Regions from separate parts of the Homo sapiens genome. Here all the other regions are linked to region 4. The links are contacts of gene promoters, found by promoter capture Hi-C in blood cells and fetal thymus (Javierre and others, 2016). All regions are on one chromosome and are shown on one strand. Each heading gives the region's core, a stretch centred on a gene start or on the middle of the fragment in contact. The rest is flanking DNA. Distances are from core to core; before and after follow the strand shown.

Region 1 (3,575 bases), core at 679-3,178, 280 kb after region 4:
TTAGAGAGGGGATAGAGGAGATATCTCCATCGTCCCCAAGAATTCACTCTCTGTAATGGGCTTAAGATAACAAAAGATGACAAGAGCCCTGTAGAAATGGGATCTTTTAAGACAAGACTCACCCAAAGGCATGACACATTTGGGATGAAGAGTGTGCTGACTCATCTCAGACACCCGGTCCTCTCATACTGACATGAACTGAAAAATTCCTGCCCTTTGGATGGTGGAGACTGAGAGTGTACCTCCACATGGTCAACAGAGTCAAGCTCCCAAGGACGTAAAACAAGATGAGAAGGAAATCTCGTCCAGTTTTTGTTTCAGGGACGTGCAGCAAAGTTTGTAACTGACCAGCCCACAGGGCCAGCTTGAGCATTGGGCTTATAGGGATCCTAGGCCCTTGTTCTATCCTACGGTGCCCCTCTCCATGACAGAAGACACATAAAGATAAAAACTGAGAGGAAAGGAGTGAAACAATGTGAATATTCATAGCACAAAGTGCACTAGATTTGCTACAGCCTCAGACTAATCACACAAATCCTTTTTCCCATTAATCAGACTTTGCAAAGGAGACAGTGATTTTTACCATCAGTTTGCGCAGAAAGGGGCCAGAAGCCTGGCTGGTAGGAAATTCTTACCCTTTTGCCGGCATGCTAGCTTTCCAGGTTCCTTATCTCTCAGCAGCTTTGGTGATGCTGCTTGCTGTACCATAGCTGTGGGGGCCATGCTGCATTACAAAAGAAAATCATCTCTTTCTGTTTCATGGAATCATAGTCAAAAACCTCATTTTGCAAGATGTAGCCAGGCTACATGGGGGATCCAAAATGACGTTTTTTATTCCAGGCAGAGGAAAATACACATGACAAAACACAGACACCAGTCACCCCGCTTAGCATCCAAGTATTGACCTGGCAAGGCTTAAACTTGCCTCTGTTGGCCCGTGTTGTCTTTGATCCACTCAAAGTGGGGTGGGGTGTTCTCCAACCAGGAGTTTCAACAGGTGATCTTTAAGCAACATGGAAGAGTGGATAGTCACCCTGAGTTAGACCTGTTGAACTTTGTTCATGGCTCACAGAATGTGACCAACCAGACAAACTAGTACAGTCTCCTGGGCTTTCATCAGCAATTCTTTCAGGGAATTCTCTCCATATATACAAATACGCACAATGAGATAAAGACAAACAAAAAGGCCTTCCAAACCAGGATTCCTAACCAAAAATTTCCAGGAGTAATTCTTCTGAACTAACCTCTTATTCTCTAACTGGGGAGACATCTCCCCAAACCCAGAGTCTTCCTACTATTTTGGGAGAGCCAGCTAATACCCCCAAAGGAGCCAAACCAAGACACTTGAAGGAGCAGAACCAAGAACCCCAGTGGAGCCAAACCAACTGGGAGAAGGAAGAAGGTTCTGACCGTGCTTAGAATACTCAGCAGACCAGTTTAAAGATGTCTTTCTAGGAAGGATGTCTTTCTCCACTGCAATTAGGCCCAAGCACTGTGGGTCAGCAGGGCCTCACTGGGCAAGGACAGCACCAGACATGGCCTTCAGTTCCAGAGAAATAAGCAGCTGCCAGAGCTCACCTCCAATTCCAACATACTGGTGGGGGGCTGACAAACTGCAGGCAGGCACCCACAAAGGCAGATCCCAGACAGACCCCCAAACTTATAATAGCCCGATGGGTTCTTCCTCCCACACAGATGAAATCAAGCCACTGAGACCAAGCCATTGCAGTAGAGAAAGAGTTTAATGGAAACGAGGATGGCCATGCCACAGAGGAGATGGAGTTATTACTCAAATCAATCTCCTAAACAGGTTTTTAACACAAACAAAAGTGCCCTATTCTGGAAAAAAAAAGGACACAAAATGCATTAGTAAGGAGGAGACGTGAGCACCAGGATTTAAGGAAGGAAGGGATAGGCCAAATCTGTTGTTTTGTGCAAATGTAGTCAGGTTTATGATCAGGACTGCCCTTATCTATAAAACTGCTAATCTCTAGCCTTGATGGGAAAAGATAAACATCAGGTGTTAGTCTTTTGGTTGTACAACACAAAGGCTTGGACAAGGAGATTGCTTTTTCTAGACTGAGTCCATCAATGCTTTGTCTCTGAAGTCAGGAAGTACCTCAACAGTAGTCTATGGAAAGGACTGTCAATGCTATGGAAGAGAACCCTGACAGAACATTACCAAAACCTTGAAAGATTACACCATTGAAGATGCCATCATTCTTATAGAAAAAGCTGTGAAAGTCATCAGGCCTGGAACAAGAAATTCCTTCTAGAGAAAACTGTCCAGACGTTGTGCATGACTTCAAAGGATTTACAATGGAGCCAATAAAGGAAATTATAAAAGAGATTGTGGATATGGCAAAAAAGGTCAGAGGGTGAAGGGTTTCAAGATACTAATCTTGGAGAAATTCAGGAGCTAACAGACATCACACAAGAGGAATTAGCAGAGGACAACTTGGAGATGATTTTTTTTTCTGAATCAGTGCAGACAATGAGAAAGAAGACATAGTAGAGGCAGTGCTAGAAAACAAATTGATGCTAGATAATATGGCAGAAGGGTTTCAATTATTCGAGACTGCTTCTCACTTCTTTTACAACATGAACCTTCCTATGATATGGGCGCTGAAACTAAAGCAAACGTTGGAAGAAGGATTGGCACTATATAGAAACATTTTTAGAGAAATGAAAAAGCAAAAAAGTTCGACAGAAGTTATGACATATTTCCTCAAAGTTACTCCAAGCGTGCCTGTCTTTTTTGCCTCCCCTTCCACTTTCTCCACCTGTGTCATCCCTGAGACAGCAACACCAACCCCTCCTCTTCCTCTTCCTCCTCAGCCTGCTCAATGTGAACATGAGGATGAAGACATTTTTGATGATCCACTTAATGAAGATTAAATATATTTCCTCTTTCTTATGATGATTTTCTTAACATTTTCTTTTCTCTAGCTTACTTTATAAAATATGCATTAATTGAATGTTTATATTATCAGCAAGGCTTCCTGTCAACAGTAGGCTATTAGTAGTTAAGTTTTTGGGGAGTCAGAAGTTGTACATGGATTTTCAACTATGTGGAGGGGAGGTTCGCACCCCTAATGTCCATGTTGTTCAAAGGTCAACTATATATCAACTCATTTAATCTAATTAACACGCAGTTCTTTAGTTTTTATGCTGTTCTCTTCCCTGTTAGTTCACATCTGTACCCAGGACAAGGCATTTTCCCCATATTTAGCTTGCAATCCATACATTGTTAATAGTATATTTTTAAAAATCTCTTTGAAAAAGATTGACTTAAATTGTGAGTTATAACCTCAAACTTTATCATCAATCTTTCGGGTTTTTCAGTAAATCTAGTTAACTCTTAATTAACAACTAATCTGTTACATTTTGATTAAAATTTGCAGTCAGCTCTCAGATATGCTTTTGTCCATTGTGCATGTACCTTTGGGCTGCCTGTTAGCATTAACCATGCCATCGATTTAACTTGATGCTTACTGTTGCTGCCTGCCCTTCAGATTTATGTAAACTGTAACCCAGCAGGAACAGGAAGAGAAGTCCATTTACATTTACCATAA
Region 2 (3,440 bases), core at 453-2,952, 300 kb after region 4:
CCTAGGAAAATAAACAAATTTGTCTATTTTGGCCTTTTTAAAGAACCAGATTTTTGTTTAAATTAATCAAATATGTTCCTTTTTAAAATTTATATTTATCAGGCCAGGCGCGGTGGCTCACGCTTGTAATCCCAGCACTTTGGGAGGCCGAGACAGGCAGATCACCTGAGGTCAGGAGTTTGAGACCAGCCTGGCCAACATGGTGAAACCCCGTTCTCTACTAAAAATACAAAAATTAGCTGGGTGTGGTGGAAGACATCTGTAACCCCAGACACTTGGGAGGCTGAGGTGGGAGAATCGCTTGAACCTGGGAGGTGGAGGCTGCAGTGAGCCGAGAATCATGCCACTACATTCCAGCCTGGATGGCAGAGCGAGACCCTGTCTCAAAAAAAAAAAAAAAAAATCTGTTTTCTATCCTTTCTTTAATGTTTAGTTTTCTTTCTACTTACTTGAGTTGAAGTCTTTGGTTAATTTATTTTCAGTCTCTTTTTCTAATAAATAAATTTAAAGCTATTAAGTTTTCCTGTGGCAACAGTCTTTGGCAACAACAAACTTTTTGATAATAGTATTTTATTTTCATTTACTTCTAAATAAGATGAAGTTTAGTTTTTATTTGCTTTTTAATCCAAGAAATACTTGGAGGAATGTTTTTAAATTTCTAAATGGATAGGTTGTTTTTTGACTATCCTTTTATCTATGTCTATTTTTATTCCAGGTTGAAGAGAATATAACCTATTTGGGAGACCGTATTAAGAGTTTAATAAACAATAAGTTTTGGAAATATTCTGTAGTTACTCAAAAGTGTACATAGTCTCCTTTTAATGGATATAACTTTGTAATAGATCCATTAAATTACACTGGTTAATTGCAGTATTCAAATTACATATATTTGTACTTAGTTTTGTCAGTTTCACTTGAAAAATGATAAGGGAATATTGAAGTCCTTCAAAATGAATATGGATTTATCAGTTTCTGTCTATGTCAAAATTAAGTTCATGGGGGTATATAAAACCATCTTTTTAGATTTTATATGTTTTGCTGATATAGAATATCCTTCTTGACCTTAAATTTTTCTAACACTGGATTAAAAAAATTATAGTTTGTATCTTTACACTTCACAACGTTTTATACTGACTTTTTAACAAATTAATAAACTTTATTTTTTAGAGCAGTTTTAAGTTCACAGCAAAATTGAGTGGATCAGAAAGTTTTCATATAACACAGTCCCCACACTCACACAGCCTCCTCTTCACACCACAATGATACATTTGTTATAGTTGATAAAGCTACATTGACACATCATCATCATCCCAAATATATAGTTTACATTACGTTTTACTCTTGGTATTATACATTCTAAGGGGTTTGACAAATGTATAAAGACATTATCCACCATTGCAGAATACAGAATAGTTTCATTAATACAGAATAGTTTCATTCATACAGAACAGTTTCACTACCCTAAAAATACTCTGTGTTCTACTTATGCATCCTCCTTCCCCGTTAACACTTAGCAACCACTGATCTATACTGTTGGTGTTTGGCTGGAGTACGGCAAGTACTGCCAAGAATACTTTCTGTCATTCAGTCACCCTTCCCCTACTCAGCTAGGTGGATTAAATTTTTCTTGGAGCTCTTTTTTGTCTATGGCTGTTGGTGGTTCTGGGTTGGAGACTTCGACAGCACCTTGTCTGGGATATATGAGAGTCAATAAGAAAACTCATGGATTTTATTGCCTTGGTATTTATCAAGTCCGAAGGTCCCTAGGCCATCTGCCTTCTTTCCACTTTTCAGAGTCTTTCTATGCTGCTTATGTTATGTTCGGGGTGTTTCAGTTGTAAGGAGGATCTGGGAACAATGGGACTACTCCATCTTGGTGGAAATCTTGGGTTGGTTTTTTAGTCAAATTAAATATTATTTTGAGTAACTTAGAATATTTCTAAAGAAGGTAATTGGTTAAATTCTCACAAATATCAGTAGATTACAGAAGTCAGTAGTTACACAATAAAATGCATCTCTAAGTGGCTGTTAAACATTTCCTCTTCAGTTTCTCCTCCGCTTATGCCAAATTGAGACTGTCATGTGGAGAGTTAATCCACAGTAATGTAGGCTTGTTTATGAGGGACAGCACTTAAGAGTTCGGTTGGCAATTATCTCATGTTAGGTGAGCCAGATAAGTCAGTTTAGAGCAGTCAGCCCAAGGATAGGGCTACCTAAGGTAGGTACCAAAGGTCCAGAGATCCAGACTGAGTCTACAGTTTGAGACCAAATTAATGCAGAGAGTGTGTCTGAATTTACAAATGGAGAGAATTGGAGGAAATAAGTGTACCTGGCTGGAGTAGAGGGTGATGGGGCAAACAAGGCAGCTTTTGTTAGTCATTTTCCTTCCTTGCTAAACCTACCTACCTCCAACCTAGACTGGCTGGATCAGTTAGGAATACAATCTATAGTAAGTGGCTTAAATGGACAAAGGTTTATTTCTTGAAGGAAGAAGAAAGGGTATGGGCAGCTTAGTGATGTCACCAGGAACTCAATCCCTTTCTATCTCTCATTCTGTCTTGCTCAGTAAGTAGGCTTTTAGCCTTATACTGGTCTTATGATTTCATCATGGCTTCTGTATCACCAGATATCATGTTTAATTTCTAGGCAGGAATATGAAGGGGGAAGCAGTCAGGGGAAATGCTTATATTAGGAGATCAAAAACTTTTTCAGAAAGTTTCACCTTATGTGCTATTGGTCATGACTGCAGAGGAGTCTGAGGCATTGGCTGCAGGGTGTTGGCTTGTTGCTTCCTGAAACAATATCAGGTACTGTTGTAAGGAAGAAAAGGAAACAGACACTATCAGGGCCTGCCTCACTGGGCCATTAGATTTTTCTCCAGAGTATAATGTGTATGCTTAATTTCATTCACTGAGAGGAAGAAAAATAGTATCTTGAGAAAATAAATACATCAACAACTCCCTTTATAAAAGGTCTTATCTTTTATACATGTCTCATCCAGGCTTCTGCTTTTTGTACTTTTGCAGCACTTTTTGGTGTTTATGGAAGTAGTGTAAAGGGCATTTATGCTAAAAATGATTGGGACAACTTAATTTTGAATAATCAAGATTTGATAGAACAAAGAACTGATGCAGAACTGTAGTTCTTATGGGATGGGGCCTACTTCCTAGGGAACTATTTTCAATCTCTGGGGCCTTTTCAATCCCTCACATCTCTCTTGAGATTCTGATTTGCCCATTTTGGGGTGTGGTAAGAATTCCTACAGTAAAATGAGGACTGTTACTGATGGAAGTCTGCTTGGGCATAGGAACATGGGAAAGGCAGGGAAAAAACGTTGAGTACCATTGTGGAAAAACATTCATTTTCAGGCCATTGAAAAATGGCTCCAGTAGACACAGGGCCATTAAAAAATAATTTTAAATCTAGAAGTTCATATCACT
Region 3 (3,524 bases), core at 156-2,655, 390 kb before region 4:
CTGTGCTCATGTGCAAAAGAAAGCCTTTTGCGATGTTGGGAACTGGGGTGTGTGAATCACCTGATTTCTGGCTGGAGCTTGGGCCCCTCATTTTTTCCATATTCAGATGTTCAGCGAACATTTGTATATTACAAGAGAAAGAGAGAAATGGCCTTACTTAAGGGAAAGTAATATGCCACGATACACAGCAGAAGTAAGGAGAAAGACTAATGTCTCAGATGATATGCTGTGCTTTACTGTTAAGTGTAGTGTTGAAAACAATTATCAGTGTCATGCCATGGGCATGAGGCAGAGATGAGGCAGCACATCTCTCTTTTCTGAAAGTTCCAAGGTCTGTGGAGGCACACACTCAGTTTTTAATACATAAAAAGGGTCTAGAAATCTTATCTTTGAAAAGGAACAGGGGAGCAGAGGATGCATTTGAAAACAAACAGTAATATAAGGAGCTATAAAGAAACTGTGTAGTAGCACTAGAGAGATACTAACAAATTAAGAATGAATGCGCAATCCCAAAACAAATGTAAACATGTTATTTTTATCATTGTGCTAGACAAATTTAAAAAATACATATATACACACACACACACACACACACACAGATAGGCAATATATGGTGTACTTTAAAACAGTCCTTATTCATGAATATCAGCAAGATCCCAGTGCTTCTTTTATGGGTTTACATCTTTTAAAGCATTTCCAGATTTCATTTGCTAGCTGTTTGCAAACATTCTCTTTGCTTTTGTGGTAATTGCACTATTGTACAGACTGTTTCAGCTAAATGTCTAATGGAATTGGTAGAATGTATGGAGTGAATAAATTGGTCAACAATTTTATGATAAGGGATTGTATTCCATTTAAGCATCTCCCCTTCTAATAAAATTCTCCTAGATGATTGAGCTTTTCATGTAACGTTCTGCGAAGGCTTTTTAGGATTTGTAGGAACCGGTTGATGTTTATGGCGGTTTAGTGTGGCAGGACATTGGAAGTCATCCTGGACATGGGCACCTCTTGGTTGTGCTAGACTGTCCCTGAAGGGCAACAAGTCTCCATTCCTGACCAGTGCTGCTCTAGAAGTCCAGCACCCTACTCTGGCTCCAACAAGACAGAGTCCATGGGACCCCAGGGATGTGCCCAGCTATCTGCATCCCCTTTCTGCACCACCATGTCCACATACCCAGAATCCTGGTATTCCCTCACTGAATGACTTACACAGCCTCTTTAGATCTCTTCCTCTAAGAGTGGACAATGCCCCAGACCACAGGTGGCCAAGCTTGAGGGTGTGGATGTGTGGGCTGGCATGTCTATCAGACGGTGGCGTGTGAGACTTTTTGCAAGGGCTGAAGGAGTAGGGAATGGAAAAGGAGGAGATTCCATCTACAGTTATGAGGCATGAGCTGGTCCCCAAGCCACACCCACTACATGACAGTGGCAATACAGTTATTGTTACGATCAAATCACTTCTGGAAATTTCTGAAATAACCTCTGGGAAGCAACAGTGCTACTGTTTTAAGCAAGAACATTGGGTTTCTTTTTTAACCAATAAGCTTTCTCTGAAGATGACCTAAAACAAACCCCAAGGGTGTTTTGTGCTATGACAACATCAATAGAATAAAAATATCATTTTTAAAGGTGCTTACTTTGAAGAAAAACTCATTGACATGTATAAAATATGATGTTTATTGAAAACAAAACAGCCAGTTTCAACAAACTTTTTAACAACAACAACAACAACAACAAAAATAAGTGGAGATTGAGATTGAATTATAAGATTTTTGTAGTATAAGGTGATATGGTGTGGGATATTCAGCCAAGAGTCAGAAAAACTGTGCTTTAGTTCTAGCATTTCCATGGAGCAGCTGAGTTATTTGGGGCACAGCCTCTTAGGATCTCATTTTTGATATCTATTAAATGAGAGGGGTTGGACAGAATGCTCTCTATACTTTCTTATATGTTTGGAAGTCCTGGCTGGGCATGGTGGCTCATGCCTATAATCCTAGCACCTTGGGAGGCTGAGGTGGATGGATTGCTTAAGCTCAGGAGTTAGAGACCAGCCTGGGCAACATGGTGGAACTCTGTCTCCTCAAAAAATACCAAAATTAGCCATCTATGGTGGTGCACACCTGTAGTCCCAGCTACTTAGGAGACTGAGGTGGGAGGATAGCATGGACCCGGGATGCAGAGGTTACAGTGAGCTGAGATCATGCCACTGCACTCCAGCCTGGGTAAGAGAGTGAGATTCTGTCCCACCCCCAACCGCCCCCCAAAAAAGTAAGTCCTGAATGTGTAAAAACCATGTTCTCTATTAGCTATACAGCATATAAGTATCTATCAAACCGAAGATACTATCAATTGTATGGTACACCAGTAATTTGTGTACTGTTAAGAAAGAAACACACTGCCTATTATCATTTAAAGAGACAACAATAAGAATACGGTTTTAAAATTTAAAAAATTTAAAAGGCTGTAGGAAGCATTCCAGTTTAGAAATGTGAAAATATAAAAAATATATCTTAGAGTCTCTAATACATGGTGATTATTATTTTATTCATCTAAATATTTTTCACAGAGTCTTGCACAGTACCTACCATATCTATTAAAAATCTGTGTATTCATTCAACAAGTGAATATAAATTTGATGCTTATTATATGTTAAGCAATACAACATGGATACATCAAAATGTACTGAATAATGGAATTTTTGAAGTATATTTGCTTTTTGTAACATCAACGTGCACATGAAGCTAGTGATGCTGTTGAGAAATCAGCTCAAGAAAACAGCGAGATGTTTTCTTTTTAGGACAGCAGAATTACCAAAAACTTGATCTCTAATGTAGACATTTGCTCCAAAGAAATTTGTACTGAAAAATGGAAGGCAGATAAACAAAAGTTCTTAGATCAGTTTCTTAGTCATCCAGGGACTTCTGTTACTTCTTTCACATTTCTGTAAAAATCTTGTTGAAAGAATCACTTCTTGCCTCCATGACTCTGATGAAGATGTTCTTTCAGCTGTAATTTCTTTTCCAGTAGAAATAAGGCGAGGGATGATTTTCTATGAACACTGATGCTATATCATATGAAATATTTTTATATGATTTATTATTGTAATTTACTGTTAAATTGATTTTTTTACACTTAAGAAATCTTCGTATTATCCACTTGTATCTAATAGTATCCTAAGACATAAATAAGTTCCCAAAAGCAACATTTTTAAAGGAATATTTCCCTGATAAGCTCTCCCTCACAGTTAGAATCTTGAGTGCAACAAATGACGAATAAAGCTCATTTAGTCTCAATATCTTTATCTACGGGGGTTATTATGCTGAAGACCTTAGGAAAATGGCAAAATAATGAGTTGAAATGCTTGAGCTCAATCTATATAATGGAAACCATATGCAATGTTATGTGGTGATTTTAAGCCTAATTATATTCAACAGTGATGTTTGGACCCTCCTCAGGAAGGAACGGGCAAGAAATTTAGTCAGGAATGACTGAGAGAACAGTTTTTGTTCTTGTTCTCTTTGGAT
Region 4 (3,501 bases), core at 997-3,496:
AATATTTAATTGCTTATAATTAAGGTATAAGTTTATTGTGGTGAGGCTTGAGTTTTCTTCTCTAAAAGCTGTATTTTACAGTATGTGTGATCTTAGACTATGTTAATCCTTTACATTTTATACACTTGTATGAAAACAAACGTAATTAGCATTGAAAATGACAGAGAGTTAAAAAAAAAAAAAAGCAATAAAATAAAAAGACCAGCCTGGTCAACATGGCCTGTCTCTACAAAAAAATTAGCTGGGCATGGTAGCCTGCACCTGTAGGCCCAGCTACTTGGGAGGCTGAGGTGGGAGGATCCCTTGAGCCTGGGAAGGTTGAGGCTGCAGTGAACCATAATCATGCCACTGCACTGCAGACTGGGCAAGAACTAGACCTTGTCTCAAAAAATAATAATGACAAAAAGATCATTTCTTTAACTTCCAAAAATAGTACGTGAAGAGCCCAGAACAATTCTCTCCATAAGGAATTACATTTAGCTTCTGAAATGTTAACTTACTTGGTGGGTTTGTTTCTCTGATGAACCTCATATTAAGGCCTGTGTTTAAGTGTTCTAATTCCACCCTCAAAATCTGCTTCTGTAGCCGTGTCAGAATGATCATTGTCTCTACTTCAGTTAGTTAATAATTCTTCCTAGCATCAATGTTCCTTTCCCCCAAAATGTTTATTAATATATATATCTCAAATTAATGCTTATTAAAACCAACACACACAAATGATCTTTAAGAAGACATATAAAAATATAACATGTAGTACGTACTTTCACTTGAAAAACATACTTACTTGTGCTTGAGAACAAATTTCACATTCTTGTATGCAAAGGCTACCAAATATGTGCTTACTAGGGTCATCACACTATACAAAACAGCAGACTGAATAAGATCCATATGCCATATTCGCCAGTATAACCCTGAATTAAAATAAAAGGGGGAAGGGTACAAAAAGAAGCAAAACATTACAACCCCGCAACAAAAGCCTGCGAAATTAATTATAGCTAAGCCTGGTAAAATACCAGGTTATTAGTTATGCAATCCAATAGTATCTGAGGATCTTCAGAAGCGAGATAACCAGTAACAGTATAGTCTCAAGCTTTCCAGTTCAGAACATTTGAAAAACATCACCTTCCTATTACTAGTCCAGATGAGATTTCAACTTCTAAAATGAGAACAAACTCTGGCTCAACGTAATCACAAGTCAGACTTCAAATTTCATTCATCAGGGTACTAGCATGCGAAACACAGGCCATTCCAAAATGCCACGTGCAGCCCCAAACCATAGTTTCCTTGCTGACGTGGCTGTTATCAGAACTCCAAGCAGTGCTATGTCCAATTAGTGAGCCATCATATGGCTTCACATCACGTTAATGGCACGCTGGGTTGTATAAGGACAAAAGAGAAAAATACATTTAGTTTTAAATGCCCAACAACAGTGCAGCAAAAGACAGGAGTTCTGGAAACTTGAGCTCTACTAAAAACGACCTTGTCCAAGTCTGCAGTTTCCCAACCAAGTGAGAATTCTAGAATTGGTCCAGTAGGATTATTAAAAAGTATAAATAAGGTAGATCCCTAACCCCTGGCACTTCAACCTCTCTCTTTTTGCAAAAACCAGGAAAATTATGCAATGGTGTGAAGTAGCTCACGTAAAGATGCACTTATAATTCAGTGGGTCACTTCATGGGTTTCTCACCTAACTAATTTATGCAAAATAAGTAATAAGTTTAAAATTTCGTAACGGCAAGCAACAGTTGTATAGAAAAGGGCAGAGGCAGTATGCTTGAGTTTGTCTGTTTAAATAGAGATTCGGGGCCGCCACCCCAGAACTAGTTAACCACCTTCTCCTGGGGTGGAGCTCGGGAACGTGCGTACTTTTAACAAGTGACCTCCCCGAGTGCTGCACAGGACAATCCCAAGCGACAACACTGTGCCCAAAGAAGAGGCTCCGTGCCTCCCCGAGCTCAGGGGAGCTGGAGAGATTGCCGACCCCCGGCCGGCACCCACGCCTTCCCTGCTCGCCGGGTCCTGCCACGTCCCCGCCCAGCCCGACTAGCCGGCGGCCTGCCTAACCCGCCTCGCTCCCAGCACTCACAGATGGGGATGGCAGACACGATGAACGCGTTTCCGAAGAAGAGCGCGGAGGACTTGGCCGAGAGATTGCGGCTGAAATCCTGCAGGAGCAGGTCCTCCTCAGACTGCTGTTTGGAGCTGCCTTTAGGAGCCATGGCGGAGCTGCAGGCGAGAACAGGGAACGTAGAGCCGGCCGCCAAGGCGGGCAAAGGCCCTTGACTCCGCCCCTGCGGCCGCCGTATCCGCTAACGACCCGTCAGCGCGGCGCGCGGAGGCGGGACCCGGTTTGGCGAAGAGCAAGCGTCCCCAGGATTGGCCAGCTTGGCGCCACTAGATAGGCTTCCGGGCGTGATTGGGCGAGCGGGCCAGACTTCCGGATTCCTGACAAGCCACGTGACCCACCCACCTGGAGGAGAGAGAAGGGATTTGTAGTTTAGTCGGTGCTTTAAAAAAAATTAACAAAACTTTATTGATATTCCACTTCAGAGCTGCTGACAGACTCACGAGTTCTCAGTTCTTCAGAATTCCAAAATTAAAAGCTCTTCTGGCCCCACGCCATTAGTGCCCTCTGTGCGTACCCAGGACTGAGTACGTTGAAGAAGAAAGAAGAGAAAGGTATAGCTAACTCATGTAAAATCCCTTCTCCTTTACACATCCTTTATTTCATTAAATACCTTGAAGAATCTTATGACGTGCGCATCATTACCGCCATTGCAGCTGAAGAGCCTGAGGGTCGTAGACCTGCGGTGTGGGTCTCCAAGGCGTGGGCTCTTTTCACTAAACAATAGGCCACCTCTGTAGGAAGAAGAAAATGGGACTCTTGCTTTTAAGAAACTCATGATCTCATTGATGAAGGCAATATTTAATATATGTCTGATACAAGTTACTACTATTTTATTTTATTTCAACTAGACCTATAGAGTTTTGTGGCTTCCAAAGCCATGCTAAATAAAACATAATACTAAGAACAGGTTGGCTAGGCAAGACTCCCTCTCTGAAGCTCAGAAGGATTAAGTATGTCTATTAAAACAGCTAGATTCCATTTTTAACTCAACACATTATCATTTTTTCTTCAAAAAAAAATTCAACCACATCACTCCCAGCAAATGCTACTTTTGATTACTGAGAACACTCTAGTGCATTAGGCACAATTTCCTCAACCTCCAGCCTCCTTATTAACCGTTTGGTAGATATCTTTCTTCCTCACAGTATCCAAATTGTAATCTACCTCCACAGCTTCCTATTACTAGTCCTAATTGGGCTTTTGTCTTCAATCTTTTCCAGTCTATTCTCTATACAGGTACCAGAGTGAGTTTTCCTGAAATATAAATCCTTCCATTATCTACCGCAAGTGTTCCTTAATGCCAGAAGTTTTCATTAATTCACCACAAAATGAAAAAGAAAAAAAGACCATCTAGTGAATTTTTCAGAAAATCA

What was found. The method cuts DNA at HindIII sites, captures the fragments that hold promoters and counts their contacts. A CHiCAGO score of 5 or more calls a contact.
Region 1: a contact is called between a fragment that was not itself captured here and the fragment with the promoter of SSR3 in region 4, in 1 of 17 cell types (total CD8 T cells). The highest score is 5.2, in total CD8 T cells.
Region 2: a contact is called between a fragment that was not itself captured here and the fragment with the promoter of SSR3 in region 4, in 1 of 17 cell types (non-activated CD4 T cells). The highest score is 5.7, in non-activated CD4 T cells.
Region 3: a contact is called between a fragment that was not itself captured here and the fragment with the promoter of SSR3 in region 4, in 2 of 17 cell types (total CD8 T cells and total B cells). The highest score is 5.4, in total CD8 T cells.

What each region holds. Positions count from the first base shown.
Region 1 is chr3:156,837,181-156,840,755 of GRCh38, forward strand. All of the region lies in intron 2 of LEKR1 (leucine, glutamate and lysine rich 1), which reads left to right. Among named protein-coding and RNA genes, the nearest start is that of LEKR1, 13 kb to the left of the region's middle. The HindIII fragment of the contact is 4,289 bases long and covers 1-3,575 here.
Region 2 is chr3:156,858,290-156,861,729 of GRCh38, forward strand. The region is part of intron 3 of LEKR1 (leucine, glutamate and lysine rich 1); the gene reads left to right. Among named protein-coding and RNA genes, the nearest start is that of LEKR1, 34 kb to the left of the region's middle. The HindIII fragment of the contact is 3,639 bases long and covers 1-3,440 here.
Region 3 is chr3:156,165,958-156,169,481 of GRCh38, forward strand. The region is part of intron 1 of KCNAB1 (potassium voltage-gated channel subfamily A regulatory beta subunit 1); the gene reads left to right. Among named protein-coding and RNA genes, the nearest start is that of KCNAB1, 47 kb to the left of the region's middle. The HindIII fragment of the contact is 274 bases long and covers 1,269-1,542 here.
Region 4 is chr3:156,552,871-156,556,371 of GRCh38, forward strand. It overlaps SSR3 (signal sequence receptor subunit 3), which reads right to left and starts at 2,247. Exons shown (of 5, transcript NM_007107.5): 1 at 2,087-2,247; 2 at 785-911. The coding sequence starts at 2,219. RefSeq lists an enhancer at 2,106-2,185. The HindIII fragment of the contact is 5,682 bases long and covers 1,089-3,501 here.